Linked DNA regions of Homo sapiens: regions 2 and 3 are each linked to region 1. The links are contacts of gene promoters, found by promoter capture Hi-C in human tissues and cell types (Jung and others, 2019). All regions are on one chromosome and are shown on one strand. The core of a region is centred on a gene start or on the middle of the fragment in contact, and the rest is flanking DNA. Distances in the headings are between cores, read along the strand shown. Region 1 holds the start of SPATS2L (spermatogenesis associated serine rich 2 like). Region 2 has its middle 56 kb from the start of SPATS2L. Region 3 has its middle 35 kb from the start of SPATS2L.

Region 1 (3,183 bases), core at 254-2,753:
GCCAATTATTATTATTAGTTTTTTTGTTTTGGAGGGATGGAGTTTCACTATGTTGCCCAGGCTGGTCTTGATCTCCAGGGCTCAAGAGATTTGCCCACCTCGGTCTCCGAAAGTGTTGGGATTACAGGTGTGAGCCACTGGGCCCAGCCCTCAGTTTATCTGTAAAACAGGACAAAAGTAGTACCTACCTGATGGGGTTCTTCCAAGGATTAAATGAGCTAGTACTTATAAAGCACTTGCTAATGTCTGTTAAATAAATTATATTATCCACACACCAATCCAAGGCGACTATAAGGTAGCAAGAACCACTCCAAGTCACATAAGAAAATGAATTCCTTTCGTTTTAGCTCCTCTCTTTATTTCAGCAGTGCGTTGTCAACAGGGCCACATTATGTTAGCAGATTTGAACTTTATCCGAAAGGTGTTTGTATTTTATTTCAAATTATGAATTCCTGAACATCGGATTATGTACGATTCTGCAGTGCCCTCGGAGGCCCATTAGAGTCTGGAGCTCGAGAAGCATAACAAACTCTGGTCTGATATTTGTAAGGAGCTTGACAGCCAAGGAGCCACTCAGAAACAGTTATTGGTATTGCCAAAAAAAAAAAAAAAAAAGGAAGCTAAGAAGTCACCCTTCTAAATAAATAAATAAATAAATAAATAAATAAAAACCTGAATTGGAGAGCTGCCTGCATTTCACTCTACTGCCTCTGGAAGAAGAGTGTTATCTAAAGTGCTTCCATCATGAATAATGATTGAGAAACTGCTTTTACTCTCCCGACTACTGTACTCCCAGGCAGAAACCCACGGCTGAAGCCCACGATGCCCATGTGTAACTTGGTTATTACACACACGTTTGGAGCCCAGTGTGCAGACCCGCAGCGCAGAGGAGGCGGCGGAACACCCCGGGTTGGTCGGGTTTCCAAGGGCTGACCCGAGCTCCAGCACTTTTTCCGCGCCTGATTTTTCAGGTCATTTTCGAATGGGCTATCTTTGCTTACATTTTGAGCTTGGATCCTCTCCAGAAAGCATTACTACCTTCTAAAAGGAAAAACATCTCGTATTTGCAGACAGTGCTGAGGGAGCAAAGTTCATTTTCTCGGGTAGGAGAAGATGATTCTCTTGCAACACGTGCGGATTGTGACAAAATCTTTCATTAACAAGGGGAGTTTCGGTGAAGTGGAGGTTTGGGGAAAGGCGAGGAAGTCGGTCTGGAGCAAGCAAGCAAAGTGCGGAAGCTGTACTGGGATTCTTCTAGAAAGTGGGGTGGGAAAGGAGCTAGGGAGGGCGTGTGGAGGGACGAGATCTGTGTCAGAACGTGCGTGTGAGCGGATACAAAACCCGAGAGAGGCGTGAGCAGCGCTGTGTTTGCGAGCGGGAGCGAGGGGCGCCGGCTGGGGTGTGTGCTCCTGGTGAGTGACACCGAGGGGAAGGCGGGCGGGTCGGCGGGCGGGGGCAGCCTGCGAGGGGCGGGAGTGTCCCTGCGTGGGGCGGCCGAGCCGGAGTTGTGTCAGTGAAGGAATCCAGTCCGGGGGCCGAGCTGGCTGCGCCCTCCGCTGCAAGCGCCGGCAGCGCGGGGCGAGCTCCGGACGGCGCGCGGCCCAGGCAGCGGCTCCCGCTCGGCCCGCCCTCCGAGCCGCAGGGGCCGCCACCGCCGCGGCGCCTCCCCTGGCGACCGCGCCCCCGGGCCCCGGCTCCGGCCCGGGACGGAGGAGCCGGCGCTCGACACAGAGGTAAGCCCAGGACCCCCTCCACGCCGGGCCGGCTGGGGATGCAGGGCGCGGGCGGACGCGGAGGGGCCTGCGCGGCCGGGACGGAGACTCGGCTGGGCCGAGCATTCCGCAGCCCGGGCCGCCCAGCCTCCGCCGCCTCCCGGAGCGCTGGGTGTGGCCCGCGCTCGGCGCCGAGGCGGGCTGGTGGCGCGGACCGGACGCGAAGGTCGCCGTCCTTCCTTTCTCCAGCCGGCGCGGGCAAGCGGGAGGAGGCGCCGGCTGGGACGCACAGTGGCGCTCCCCGGGCGAGCGTGTGGCCGCCGCGCTCCGACGTGTACCCGCCCGCCCCGGATCTGAATCGCCCGCGGCCGCCGTCCCTCGCCTGCCGTCCTCCCGCGCGGGCGCCCCCGTTCCCTCCCAAGCCGGAAAGAGACCCACCGTCCCCCAGGCTGCTCTCTGGCCCGGAGCCGCAAAGCCCACGTCAGCCGCGACCACCCCGCCCTCGGATCCCAGCCGGGTGCGGGGGCCGCGGCCCCACTGAACCCCGCGCCCCTGGCGCCCAGCGGGAGTGGGATGCGTTGGCGTCCGCGCTGCGCGGGTGGGCTGGGGTGGCCGGAGCAGACGCGGAGCGCCCTGGCCGCGGGACGAAGCGGTCGCGCCGCCGCATTTGGGCGGGGGGACCCCGGAGTCCGCGGGCTGCGGACCCCAGCGGGAGACGGGGTTGTCGTAGGATGCGCTCGCGCTGGACGCCGGCGCACTCTGAATATCATGCTGCCGCACACGCGGGGCTGAAGGGCCGAGTCTTCACCTGCGCGGGGATGCGGCGGAAGCGTCGCGTCTTCGCGAGTGGAGGTTTCGTGTTCCCGCGGGGTTGGTGTGTTTTTGAACTTCACGAGCTTCTCATCCCCCCCGCAATCCTGGTTTTAGCAGATGTCGGGGTTTTGGAGACCTGACACTTTTCGTGAAAGATTCTTTCTGTACGTTTTCTTTTGGCTATATTACAGGGTTTGTAGCTTGAGAACTAGTGAAAACCCTTGAACTTCAAACACAGTCTCATTGCTTATTTTTTGAAATTTAAATATTAAAATATGTACCAGCCCCCTCACAAGCCGACAGACTTTAAGACAAACGACTGTGAAATTTTAGAACCTGTGCAGAGAAAGTGGTTTTATACCAGTACTTGAAATAGTAAGGTCGTGTAACCTTTTTAACATCGTTTTAGTTTGTCTTAAAGGAAGGTTTCAGCACCACTTTGACTGGTACTGTTTTCCAGAGTTTAAGCAGATGTATGTAATATAGCAGGGAAGAGGACAGGAAGTCAGAAATCTCTTCACTCTGAAAAAAAAAAAAGACTTCAAATAATACAACCAATACCCTGAAAATAGAGTGGCCGTCTGGATAAAGTATTTGATAGGCCTTATGAAATTGTGTTGCTTAACCAGAAAGCAATGTGTTGTTAGATAGGGCAGTT
Region 2 (3,183 bases), core at 200-2,699, 56 kb before region 1:
GAGCCTCCCTTTGCGATTCTCTATTGATTGTTTCTGGCACAGAATCCCTGACAAGAAACATTTTGAGGGCTTTACTAGATTTCAGCACCAAAGACCTCAACAGATTAAGTCCTGGCTTGGTGATCTGACGCAATTAAAGGTAAATCTCTTTATGTTGTTAAAGAATTTAGAGAACTAAACAACATTAAATACGTTCATGTTATCCTGGCTTATCTCTCAGGTAATCTTTAAAGGTAGAGAACTGAGACAATGATCTAGGTAATCCACAAGTCACTCTCCCTTTCAGGGAAGGAAATGGGGGTTTTCTTTTTCTTTTTTTTTTTTTTTTGAATTTATAATGTCTATTTTTATTGCTTTAAGATTTAGGATTACTGCCATATTGAAGAAAATGAGAACAAAAACTTTTCAGTCTTTCCAGAAAATTGCCTGGAAGGAGAAAAAGAAGCAATAAGTGAACATGACAAATCAATGAGTCGAGGTGGTCATAGGATGTTCCTATTATTTAAATGTTAAGGCTGGTTTATGTCTTTAGCATTGCCTGATTGTCTTAAAGTCAATTTACCTTAAAAGTCTGCCTCTCAACCAAGGAATAAATAATAATCAAAATGTGTATTTTCATATAGTATGCTTCTTTAAAACATTCATTTTATTTTTCACATTCTCAGTGAGTGAAAAGTAATTGAAACAGGATGTAGGGGGAAGAGCAGTCCTGTCTCATAACTACTCTGAGGCTGTTCCTCATCTGTAATGTCTATGCTGTTAGTTCTGATAGGTGACGGTGTAATGCAGAGATCTGAATAACTTGCCAGCTGCTTTTTGTCACCTGGGTTGCCAAGGAAAAACTGTGATGGAAAGGACAATTAAGGCAAACGTGCATGCTATTATTGCCAGCTGAGGATTTGACCATGTTACCCTGTGTTGGCTGGGCACGGTGGCTCACACCTGTAGTCCCAGTACTTTGGGAGGCCAAGGCAGGCAGATCGCTTGAGACCAGGAGTTCAAGACCAGCCTGGCCAATATGGTGAAATCACATCTCTACTAAAAATACAAAAAAATAGCTGGGCATGGTGGCATGTGCCCATAATCCAGCTATTTGGGAGGCTGAGGCAGGAGAATTGCTTGAACCTGGGAGATGGAGGTTGCATGAGCTGAGATTGTGCTACTGCACTGCAGCCTGGGCAACAGAGCAAGACTTCGACTGAAAAAAAAAATACCCTGTGCTGTATCTTATTGTGGTAAACAGAAGGAACAGAATGAATGTGAGCCTCCAAAGGTCCTTTTCTTGCCTAGCTGAAGGCTTAGATGAGCCCGGTGGCCTCCTTATTTCCTTATTCTTTTTTTTAATTATTATTATACTTTAAGTTTTAGGGTACATGTGCACAATGTGCAGGTTAGTTACATATGTATATATGTGCCATGCTGGTGATGGATTAAAGACTTAAACATTAGACCTAAAACCATAAAAACCCTAGAAGAAAACCTAGGCATTACCATTCAGGACATAGGCATGGGCAAGGACTTCATGTCTAAAACACCAAAAGCAATGGCAACAAAAGCCAAAATTGACAAATGGGATCTAATTAAACTAAAGAGCTTCTGCACAGCAAAAGAAACTACCATCAGAGTGAACAGGCAACCTACAAAATGGGAGAAAATTTTTGCAACCTACTCATCTGACAAAGGGCTAATATCCAGAATCTACAATGAACTCAAACAAATTTACAAGAAAAACACAAACAACCCCATCAAAAAGTGGGCGAAGGACATGAAAAACTTCTCAAAAGAAGACATTTATGCAGCCAAAAAACACATGAAAAAATGCTCACCATCACTGGCCATCAGAGAAATGCAAATCAAAACCACAATGAGATACCATCTCACACCAGTTAGAATGGCAATCATTAAAAAGTCAGGAAACAACAGGTGCTGGAGAGGATGTGGAGAAATAGGAACACTTTTACACTGTTGGTGGGACTGTAAACTAGTTCAACCATTGTGGAAGTCAGTGTGGCAATTCCTCAGGGATCTAGAACTGGAAATATCATGTGAGCCAGCCATCCCATTACTGGGTATATACCCAAAGGACTATAAATCATGCTGCTATAAAGACACATGCGCACGTATGTTTATTGCTGCACTATTCACAATAGCAAAGACTTGGAACCAACCCAAATGTCGAACAATGATAGACTGGATTAAGAAAATGTGGCACATATACACCATGGAATACTATGCAGCCATAAAAAATGATGAGTTCATGTCCTTTGTAGGGACATGGATGAAACTGGAAATCATCATTCTCAGTAAACTATCACAAGAACAAAAAACCAAACACCGCATATTCTCACTCATAGGTGGGAATTGAACAATGAGAACACATGGACACAGGAAGGGGAACATCACACTCTGGGGACTGTTGTGGGGTGGGGGGAGCGGGGAGGGATAGCTTTAGGAGATATACCTAATGCTAAATGACGAGTTAATGGGGGTTTTCATCTACATGATTTCCTTGCTGTTGTCTGCCTGATGAAATCCAGGTTCTCTGGCTGGCCCTTAAGCCATTTAAGTCTTACAGATTTAGGAACTTGTGAACTTCAAGAATTATTTTCTGTTTAAATGTTACTTATTTTCAGAGAAGATTAAATCTATTAAACACCTGTATTAAAACATGATATTTTCTGGCTTTGGTAGGACTTTCCTTCTGACTTTAAGAACAAAATAATAGTAATTCAATATTTGTTAGTAAAATTTAATTTCTACATCATATAACATTAGATTGCCTCCATAAAAATAAGTTATTTAAAAAGCAATTTCACAAGAAATGCTAGCTCAACTCTTTGACAACAATACTATAGCTTTAACTCACTGCTGGATCCCCAGCACCTAAAACTGCACCTGGTATGTATTTGATATTGAATAAATATTTTAGACATAAGATTATGTTAAAATCATAATTTTAAATAAAATTTTCTATAAGATCATATGGAATCAAAATATAAATATTGATTATTGCTCATTAAAATGAGACTATTGGAATACCTTATTGGTGGCCACACATTTTTTAAGAGTCAACAGCATAAAATTGAACAGAATGATCAACGATATTCCTTTACACAAATACATCTTTGATTCTTACAGTTCAAGTAAAAACCGTCAAGCACTATAAACTATTTTGATCAACTC
Region 3 (3,183 bases), core at 484-2,983, 34 kb before region 1:
CGTTGCCACTAAAAGGAATAGCCAAAACCGCAATTATTTTTGCACCAATCTAATAATAATTATTGTCAATTCTTTGCATGATGGAATACTTAAAATTGGTAATATTTTGTCTGGGCCAGAGTTACTAACTAAAATCATGGATGACTGGGTTTTTTTTTAAGCAAGAAAGTAAATGATCACATTTTGTAAAAATGTATCTATTATATGGATAATAGATAAGAAGGAAGAGTGTAGGAAGGGAAGGAGAGAATCAATGGGAACTCATGCCAAAGTCAAGGGGAAAAATAGTGTCTGAATCAGACAATGACAATGATAATGGAGAGGGAGAATGGAATTAAAAACTTTTTGGATATATCCTGGGGAAGGACTTGGTGGTCAATTAGATATAAAGGACAAGGACTACTCAAGGGTAACTCAAGTTTCTTGTCAGGTTGACAGGGTGGAAATGGTGCCATCAGCACAGATTAGTAAGCAACGATGAATCAACAGGTTTGGCAGGAAAAGAATTAACTCAAGCTTTAGCCATGTTGATTGTGAGAGGTCTGGGGGTTGCAGAGCCACCAGGCATTATCAACCAGTGACAATTGCCAAAGGAGTACATGGTAAAATTATTTTTGTAATTATTTAAAAACTTCTCTGCCATTATCTCAAGTATGCCTTTCCTTTTTCCCCCAGAGGAAACCAGAGAGGGGACAAATCTCCCAGACCTGTGGGAGGGAAGAAAAGAGACAACCTGAGCTGGAAGTAACCCTGGGCCAATCCTAAAACCACGTGCAGATCCACGGAGGACTAATGTGGAACTGAATTTTTCTGTGTGTTATTTTAGATTGTATTCTTTTCTAAAATCACAGTACAAAATGTTTTCAAAACTGTAAGTCCCATGCTTTACAAGTTTGTCACATACAGCTAAAAATCGTTGTCAGGGCATAGACATTTGTAGTTCCTAGTTGACCAACACAGAAATAATCAACATATAACAACAATTCTACTAGATACCAATACACAGCAATAAGCCAGCCAGCTCTTTTATAAATGCAACGTAGAAAGCATTAGCAGCAGGCCCACGCTGGGCTTTTATTTTTGGTTGAGCTTAGCTGACCTTAAAATAGATTTGCATTGAGGAAAATGTAAAACTTCCTCAAATATAGTACCACTTAATTCAGCATAAGCCATAGAGGGGAGGGTTGTGTCTCTAGGGAGAATTTTTACATTCTAGTAACTATAAAAGTAAGGTCTAATACTATGCTATTTCTCTAAAATTTTCATATTCTAGTAAAGCTTATGAATGTATCTTTGAGCTTAATACAAATGCCACTAACTGGTGTGCCCCCTCAAAGATGTTCTCAACTCTGCGGTTAGTTTTTTAGCATCTACTCTCAGAGTGATTGTTGTTTCATTTTGATAGCTATCCCCGAAATTTTCTTATGATGCCACTAGATGAATTTAAAAAATATACTGTGACCAAACCATAGATGCTGTGCCCTTGGGGTGCAAGATTGGCAGCAATTAATTGATTAATGGATATATCTTCTCTACCAATGATTTTAGATTTTGTAGTCACAACAGCACAAATACATCATAGTGGGCAAACTTAAATAAATAAATTTTGTCTTCTGGGCCTTTGGTTTCCCCATTCAACCCCTTACCATATTAGGTTCTTTTGTTTCTGGTCCACCTATCAGTACCTGTCTCTGCTCCCTCAACAATATCTATTATTATGTGCCAATTTTCTCAAATTTTATTTCAGTTGTTCTTCCTATCAATCTGTGAAGCAGATATTTTTATTACCCTTTCACTAAGGATAATACTACCAGGGGAAACTGTGGATCCAAGAGGTTAAATAATTTGCCTGAGTATATTAGTCAAGGATCTCCAAAGAAACTATATGCAGTCTGTCATATATCTATATATCTCTCAGAGAGAGAGAGAGAAAGGGAGAGAAATTTATTATGAGGAACTGGCTCATGCTATTAGGAAAGCCAGTCATGTAATTCAGTCCAAGTCTAAAGTCCTGAGAACCAAAATAAGCCAGTGATGTAAATCTCAGTCCAAGGGCAGGAGAAGACCAAAGTCCCAGTTCAAACAAGAAGGCAAGAAGCAAAAAGTGGAAATTCCTCCTTCCTCCACGTTTTGTGATTGGATGATGTCCCTCTACATTGAAGAGGGCAACCTATTTTACTGGGTCCACTAATTCAAACGCTAATTTTATCCAGAAACACCCTCACAGACACACCCAGAAATGTTTAATCTGGGTACTCCATGGCCAGTGAAGTTGACACATAAAATTCACCATCACACTGAGGTAACCGAATTTATTGGAAATTTTATTGAAAAGTAGAAACTTTAAAATCAGGCCTAACCCTAAAACATCAGCCATCACACTTTGCCAATCTCGTATGTTACCTGCCTAGACTCTTCCCAAGGTCTTTAGCTAAAGGAAATCCTTTAGGAAAAAAAAAATGGGATTTCTGGTGTGGAAGAGTCTGGGAGAACTGGACGTTCTCAGAAGATGTAGATTCTTTAGCTATTGGATTTACCAAGACCCCAAAGGACATGTTGGCCTACTTAACAAACAATCATTTAGGCCCTTCGTGTGCTAGACACTGTATGTTCATTGTTATGGCAGAAATAAACATGAAACCAAATTCTGCCTCCTAAGAAGCTTATATTCCTCTGTATTTTTGTCTACCAAATATCACTCAATGGCACGCTATCCTAACAGAAGAATTTGGCTTAGCTGGTGCAGTGGCCCATGCCTGTAATCTCAGCTACTTGGGAGTCTGAGGTGGGGGATCGTTTAAAAAGCCCAAGACTTTGAGTCCAGCCTGGGCCACGTAGCAAAACCATGGCTCTGAAATAACTAAAATAATAAACTGTTCAGTTAATTAAAAAAAAATTTGGCTTAATGAAAGCAGCAACAACCTAACATTTATTAGGTGTAGGTTAGTACATGTCTTATTTGGACCTATCTCAAGTGCGTACACAGTGTATTAAGGACTGCCTTGAATGACAAAAGAAGAGTGTGGATGGAAAAAGGAGCAGTCGGTAATCTATTTTTAAGACCACTAGAGTTCTATGAACCACTTAGATATTATACTGGGCATTGTTTTTGTTTATTACCATCCCTTCCTTGGAGAACCCACCCCTTGCATATGTGGTGAGATTCTCATAGAGCTATTATCA

The links. Contacts are between HindIII fragments. The study calls those that stand out against the background at their distance.
Region 2: a contact is called between a fragment that was not itself captured here and the fragment with the promoter of SPATS2L in region 1, in 1 of the 25 tissues and cell types used here (IMR-90 fibroblasts).
Region 3: a fragment that was not itself captured here is called in contact with the fragment with the promoter of SPATS2L in region 1 in 4 of the 25 tissues and cell types used here (IMR-90 fibroblasts, liver, mesendoderm cells and 1 more).

What each region holds. Positions count from the first base shown.
Region 1 is chr2:200,305,190-200,308,372 of GRCh38, forward strand. It overlaps SPATS2L (spermatogenesis associated serine rich 2 like), which reads left to right and starts at 1,504. Exons shown (of 13, transcript NM_001100423.2): 1 at 1,504-1,733. RefSeq lists an enhancer at 879-978 and silencers at 1,389-2,118, 2,139-2,468. The HindIII fragment of the contact is 4,989 bases long and covers 1-3,183 here.
Region 2 is chr2:200,249,211-200,252,393 of GRCh38, forward strand. No RefSeq gene overlaps it. Among named protein-coding and RNA genes, the nearest start is that of SPATS2L, 56 kb to the right of the region's middle. The HindIII fragment of the contact is 5,249 bases long and covers 1-3,183 here.
Region 3 is chr2:200,270,470-200,273,652 of GRCh38, forward strand. No RefSeq gene overlaps it. Among named protein-coding and RNA genes, the nearest start is that of SPATS2L, 35 kb to the right of the region's middle. The HindIII fragment of the contact is 4,614 bases long and covers 1-3,183 here.